2 separate regions of the Homo sapiens genome follow, and region 1 is linked to region 2. The links are contacts of gene promoters, found by promoter capture Hi-C in blood cells and fetal thymus (Javierre and others, 2016). All regions are on one chromosome and are shown on one strand. The core of a region is centred on a gene start or on the middle of the fragment in contact, and the rest is flanking DNA. Distances in the headings are between cores, read along the strand shown.

Region 1 (3,545 bases), core at 520-3,019, 200 kb before region 2:
TCACCACACCCAGCCTCCTGCTGGTGTTCATGGCATCTAGAAACACACCCGCCCCTCACCCCAACACTGGCTTGCTTTCACATTTGTTTTAGAAAAGAGGCTAAACAGCATCTCCCCCACTTCGGAAGACAGCCAGTGACCATCACTCCTTGACGAGCAAGATCATAAACACACCCATTGCCCTTAAGTCTGTTTTGTGCTGCTGTTACAGGGACCTAAGACTGGGTAATTTATAAAGAACAATAATTGATTTCTCACATTTCTGGAGGCCAGGAAGTTCAAGATCAAGGTGCTGGCAGGTTTGGTATCTGGTGAGGGCTGCTCTCTGCTTCCAAGAGGGTGCCTTGGTGCCGCATCCTTTGGAGGGAGGAACACTTGTCCTCGCGTGGCAGACAGTGGCAAGGCAGACGGGGGATGAGCTCCCTCTCTAGCCCTCGTATAGGGCACCAACCCCATTCATGAGGGCAGCGCAATCCTGACTCAGTCACCTCCCCAAGGCTTCACCTCCCAATAAGGTTGCCTTGGGGATGAAGTTTCCAAAATGTGAATTTTGGTAGACACATTCAGCCCATATCACCATTCCTAAACATTCCAGCTTCATTTGACCCATGTGCCTAAGCAAGCACTTTTTATTTTTTCAGACAGGGTCTCACTTTGGTGCCCAGGCTGGAGTACAGTGGCACCATCATAGCTCACTGCAGCCTCAACCTCCTGGGCTCAAGTGATCCTCCGGCCTCAGCCACCCAAGTAGCTGGGACTACAGATATATACCGCCACACCCGGCTAATTTAATTTTTTGTAGAGATAGGGTCTCACCATGTTGACTGGGCTGGTCTTGAATGCCTACGCTTAAGTGATCCACCTTGGCCTCCCAAAGTCCTGGGATTACAGGCAACAAGCATTTTTTTTTAAAAGGCAGCATGAACCAGAGCTTCAATAAAGGGAGTTGGTAAACTTTTTTTTTTTTTTCCAAAAGCAAGAAAAGCCCAGGTTGGCCATTTATCCAGCAGAAGCAGAGTATTTGTAAAATAATGGTTCCTCTCAGTACTTGGAAGTGAATTCATGGCAGAGGCGAAGGGCAAACTGCTTCCTCTAGGGGGATTCTGAATACCTGATGCAGAATTCAGCTGGTGTGTGGCTGGGTGCAGTGGCTCACGCCTGTAATCCCAGCACTTTGGGAGGCTGAGGCGGTGGATCATGAGGTCAGGAGTTCCAGACCAGCCTGGCCAACATGGTGAACCTCTGTCTCTACTAAAAATACAAAAATTAGCTGGGTGTGGTGGCAGATGCCTGTAATCCCAGCTACTTGGGAGGCTGAGGCAGGAGAATTGCTTGAACCCAGGAGGCAGAGGTTGCAGTGAGCCGAGATCATGCCACTGCACTCCAGCCTGGGCAATAGGGCAAGACTCTGTCTCAAAAACAAAAAAACACAAACATTTAGTTGGTGTGAAGCTGCAGCTGGAAATAGCTTCATGAACATTTCGAACCTGTGCGGAGCTAGGTATGCGTGCTGCTGCTTTTGGTTGGAGACTTTTGGGAAGCAAACAGGGAAGGGAGAGGAAGCCACTTCCATGTTACCAAAAATTGTGTTACCCACAGCATAGAATTGTAATTTTATGTCAAAATGGAGGCACAGGTAAGATGTCACTAGAGAAAAAGTGTCCTGTGAACTGTGCAGGAAGACAAGCTAATGACAAATTATTAGGCTTTAAAAAGTAGGCAGCTGGGTGCAGTGGCTCATGCTTGTAATCCCAGCACTATGGGAGGCTGAGGTAGGAGGATCGCTTAAGCCCAGGAGGTGGAGACTGCAGTGAGCAGTGATTGCGCCACTGCACTCCAGCCTGGGTAATAAAAAAAATAAATAGGCCAGGTGTGGTGGCGCACACCTGTAATCCAATCACTTTGAGAGGCTAAGGCAGATGGATCATTTGAGGTCAGGAGTTCGAGACCAGCCTGGCTGGCCAATGTGGTGAAACCCTGTCTCTACTAAAAATACAAAAATTAGCCGGGCATGGTGGCATGCACCTGTAATCCCAGCTACTCGGGAGGCTGAGGCAGGAGAATCGCTTGAACCCGGGAGGCAGAGGTTGCAATGAGCCGAGATTGCACCACTGCGCTCCAGCCTGGGCGACAGAGTGAGACTCTGCCTCAAAAATAAAATAAATAAATAAAGAAGTAGGGGAAAATGTGCATAAGTGCCAGAAACAGACCATCCCATGGACCTTTTCTGAGCACAGTGAGCCGGAATAGTGGATTTACTGGTTGTCGTAAAAGGGTAGGAAGGAAAGTTCTAGCACATGCTATGAGACAACAGACAGGGATTAAGAAAATCACGCTTTAATGTCTGGTCCTCGATCACCTTAGCACAGCGCTTCTCTGAGGAGAAATGCCAGCTCTGCCGCATGGCTGCAGGGAATGGTCGGGGGGAAGCCTGCAGCCCAGGCCTGCTACAAGTCTAGTGACTGCAGCCAGGCGGCCTCCCCTGCCGCATAAAGTGCTTGAACAGAGCCGCCGTGCCTCAGAGGACTGGGCCTGTCCTGGAGAGAGCTGGAGACAGGAGGCTTCTGAGCAAAGCCAGCTCCAGCCCTGAAAGCCACAGCAGTGCCACTGCGTCGGGCCAGCGCTCCCCCGACAACCCCAGGTTGCGGGAAAAGCAGAGTTGACCCAGCCAAGAACAGACTGCTGACCTCCTGGGCCGAGTGGGCAAACAGATCCTGCACACAACACACAGGAGCTGCTGGGGAACCCTGAGTGCTTGTGGAGTGGAGACTCAATCAGATTCCAGAAATTTCTCTGGGGTGATGTGGTGGCCATTTCTCCCTCCTCCTCCTCTCTGTTCTTTGATGGGGCTGTGGAGAGCCCAGGTGTGGGGTAGGCCTCACTGGTCCAGCTCACTAGCAAGACCCTGCAAAGAAGGACACAAGCAGATCAAGGTGCCCCTGGGACCCCTTGTGGCAGGCGGGAGGGAGGTGCGCTCCTGGGACTTCACCGCCAGGGGTTCTCAAGTTGGTCCCAGGCCTGGAACCCAACCCTTCCTGTTCCGCAAGGTGCACTGAAGTAGTGTGTGCCCACAGGCATTCTCAGAGCATGCATTATCATCACCAACCTGAGATGTCGCTCATTGAAACGAGGCTGGGTTTAAAGAGTCAATCTAGTACAGGGGCCTAGGGATGGAGCAGCTGCTGAGAGTGGCAGGACTGCCCGGGTTAACGGGGACACCACGCCACACTGGTGCCAGCCTCTGCAGAAGGGCCTCCCCAGACAGGCCCACGCCCAGGGCTCCCACACCCAAGAGATGAGAGGCCTGTGCCTGCTGGGGGCCAGGAGGGGCCTACCTGCTCGTAATCTTCCACATATTTATATTTCTTCTCCCGATAGTAGAGTCTTTTCTTCATGCAGTAGAGGACTATGATGTCACACAGCACGGTCGCCTGAGTTTAGCATAGGGTGAGAGTGAGCCAGGATGCTTGCAACCCATCAACCCATCTTATTCTTTGCGTGCCCCTTCCTGAGAAGCCTGGAATCTTTACCGGAATGGAAAGGCA
Region 2 (3,077 bases), core at 525-3,024:
AACTCCTAGACTCAAGTGGTCCTCCCACCTCAGCCTCCCAAGTAGCTGGGGCTACAGGTGGACACCACCACACCTAGCTATTTTTTAAAAAACTTTTTGTTTTTAAAACAAAAACTGGAGTTTTAAACTCCAGGCCACCACTGCCTCTCACCTGCACCACTGTGCAGTGTCCTGACCATCTCCCTACATCTGTTCTTGCCCTTGCAATCATCCTCACCACAGAAGCAGAGAAGTTACAAGTGTGGCAAAGGGCAGACCGGAATTCAAAGCCAATGTGGAGTGGGGAGTTGGATACATGAGTCTGGATTTCAGGGAAGAGGTATGGATTTAAGATACAAATGTGGGAGTCACTGGGTATGGTGGCTCACGCCTGTAATCCCAGCACTTTGGGAGGCCGAGGAGGGCAGATCAGGAGTTCAAGACCAGCCTGGGCAACATGGTGAAACACTGTCCCTACTAAAAATACAAAAAGTTAGCCAGGCGCGGTGGCGGGCTCCTGTAATCCCAGCTCCTTGGGAGGCTGAGGCACAAGAATCGCCTGAACCTGGGAGGCAGAGGTTGCAGTGAGCCGAGATTGTGTCACTGAACTCCAGCCTGGGCGAGACAGTGAGACTCCATCTCAAAAATAAACAAATAAATAAAAATAAAATTAAAATGTGGAAGTTGCCAGAGTAAAAACATTTAAACGCTGGCTGAAATCACCAAGGGAGTAAGTCTAGAACAAGAAGAGAAAAGGACCCAGGACTAAGCCCTGGAGCACTTAATATTATTCAGAGTTTGGGAAGTTGCAGGTGTCCAGCTATGTTGCCCAGGCTGGTCTTGAACTCCTGGCCTCAAGTGATCCTCTCACCTTGGCCTCCCAAAGTGCTGGGACTACAAGCATGAGCCACCATGCCCAGCCCGGATCCCCAGTCTTTAAGATTCCTCTCAAGCAGGTGTCTGCTAACACCAAATGAAACTCATCTGCCGGCTTCATGTTTTCATGCTTTTTTCCTACTTAACTCATCGCACTGGACTTTTGCAGTCTCTTTTTTCTGTGTCTCCTCCACCGTTCTGGGAGTCCCCTTGGAACAGGAACCTCATCTTATTTTGTCTTCTTGGCTCAATGCATGAACTTCTTGGTTCAGTGCGTGAATCATAATACCTGTTAAACCCACTCTATGGGCCGGGCGCGGTGGCTCACGCTGTAATCCTAGCACTGTGGGAGGCCGAGGTGGGCGGATCATTTGAGGTCAGGAGTTTGAGACCAGCCTGACCAAAATGGTGAGACCCCCGTCTCTACTAAAAATACAAAAAAAAAATTAGCCGGGCGTGGTGGCACATGTCTGTAGTCCCAGCTACTAGGGAGGCTGAGGCAGGAGAATCGCTTGAACCCGTGAGGCAGAGGTTGTAGTGAGCTGAGATTGCACCACTGCACTCCAGCCTGGGCAACAGAGCAAGACCCGGCCAAAAAAAAAAAAAAACAAAAAAACAAAAAAACCCACTCTATGAATAGTGAGGGTCAAAGAGGTTAGAGTCTGGCACAGGTAGACTAGAATTCCCAGTCTGTTCTCTTGGGCTCCAGATTCTCACTCCACCACCTGAACACTAGTGAGTCCCTTCCGTTCCCAAGCCTCAATTTCCTTAGACAGATGTAAGCAGTTGAATTGACTAACAACTATCCAACCCCAACCTACTGGGCAAGTTGCCTCCTTTGGGGTCAAACACTATCCAACTTCAGTTTCCCAACGTCATAAAGGAGAACTCTAAAAGTTGAGAATCGAAACTGATGACAGATTGACTAGACGGCCAGCCTGTTAAGGTGGCCCCAGATATTCCAGCCTCAGCCCAGAGTCCTCCTGTGCCCCTACTGCAGCAAGGGTGTCTCCAAGAAGGGGGACCTGGAGTCAGCCCGTCACACCTGGTTTCCTCTCTGCTAGGGTCCCTCCTCCCACAGAGCACTGGAGGGCAGCTGAGGAGGAGCTACCTTAAAAAAGGAGGTGTGTGCCAGGGAGCTGGGTAGGAGCCTGGCTATATATCTGCCCAGCAGCGGTACTCTCGGGACAGAGATGGCACTGATGCAGGAACTGTATAGCACACCAGCCTCCAGGCTGGACTCCTTCGTGGCTCAGTGGCTGCAGCCCCACCGGGAGTGGAAGGAAGAGGTGCTAGACGCTGTGCGGACCGTGGAGGAGTTTCTGAGGCAGGAGCATTTCCAGGGGAAGCGTGGGCTGGACCAGGATGTGCGGGTGCTGAAGGTAGTCAAGGTAAGACTGGGCTCCTCCAGCCCCCACGCAAGACAAAACCCAGTATCAGAGTCCACGTCCCTGGGGATGCTGGGGACCCCTGTCCTCCTTATCCCTAGCCCATGCTGATGACATCTCAGAATACCCCATCCCACCTAGCTGTCTACACCCCACTGCACCACTGCCTTGAGTAGAATGAGTCTAGTAATAATAGCTCACATTTGGGGGCTCACTGGACTAACCTCTTAACATACACTATCTCTAATTCTTGCACTCTGTGAGATAGGTACTATTCTTTGCCCAGTTTACAGATTAGCAAATGGAGGCTCAGAACCAATACAATGCGAGGTCCTTGGTTGGATCCTAGTGTGAATGAACCATCTGTAAAATATAGTTTGGGGACAACTGGCCTAGATATCAGATAGTACATATATCTGATATGGGAAATCATTGTTGATTTTGTTAGGTGTAACAGTAGTTTTGTGGTTATCAGAAGGTTGTCTTTTGTTTGGACACGAACACTGAAGTATTTTAGGGACAAAGTTCCTTGGTGCCTATAATTTACTTTAACGTGGCTTAGATTAAGCACATGTAGCCAGGAATTTAGACTTGTTGAATCAACTAGTTGGGTATATGAGTGTTAGTTGTATCATCTATTTTTCTATGTGTTTTAACTTTTTGATAATAAAATGACTTTTTTTTTTTTTAGAGACAGGGTCTCGCTCTGTCACCCAGGCTGGAGTGCAGTGGCACAATCACCACTCACTGTAGCCTCAATCTCCCTGAGCTCAGGTGATCCTCAGCCTCCTAAATAGCTTGGGATTACAGGCATGCACCACCATGCTCAGCTAA

The links. Contacts are between HindIII fragments. The CHiCAGO score rates a contact against its expected background, and 5 or more counts as called.
Region 1: a contact is called between a fragment that was not itself captured here and the fragment with the promoter of OASL in region 2, in 3 of 17 cell types (M2 macrophages, erythroblasts and megakaryocytes). The highest score is 5.6, in M2 macrophages.

Annotation. Positions count from the first base shown.
Region 1 is chr12:121,232,883-121,236,427 of GRCh38, reverse strand. P2RX4 (purinergic receptor P2X 4) reads right to left here. Exons shown (of 12, transcript NM_002560.3): 11 at 3,336-3,431; 12 at 2,322-2,905. The coding sequence ends at 2,879. Among named protein-coding and RNA genes, the nearest start is that of P2RX4, 25 kb to the right of the region's middle. RefSeq lists an enhancer at 2,059-2,686. The HindIII fragment of the contact is 6,150 bases long and covers 1-3,545 here.
Region 2 is chr12:121,037,943-121,041,019 of GRCh38, reverse strand. It overlaps OASL (2'-5'-oligoadenylate synthetase like), which reads left to right and starts at 1,774. Exons shown (of 6, transcript NM_003733.4): 1 at 1,774-2,246. The coding sequence starts at 2,049. RefSeq lists enhancers at 1,610-2,029, 1,609-2,108, 2,109-2,610. The HindIII fragment of the contact is 5,031 bases long and covers 1-3,077 here.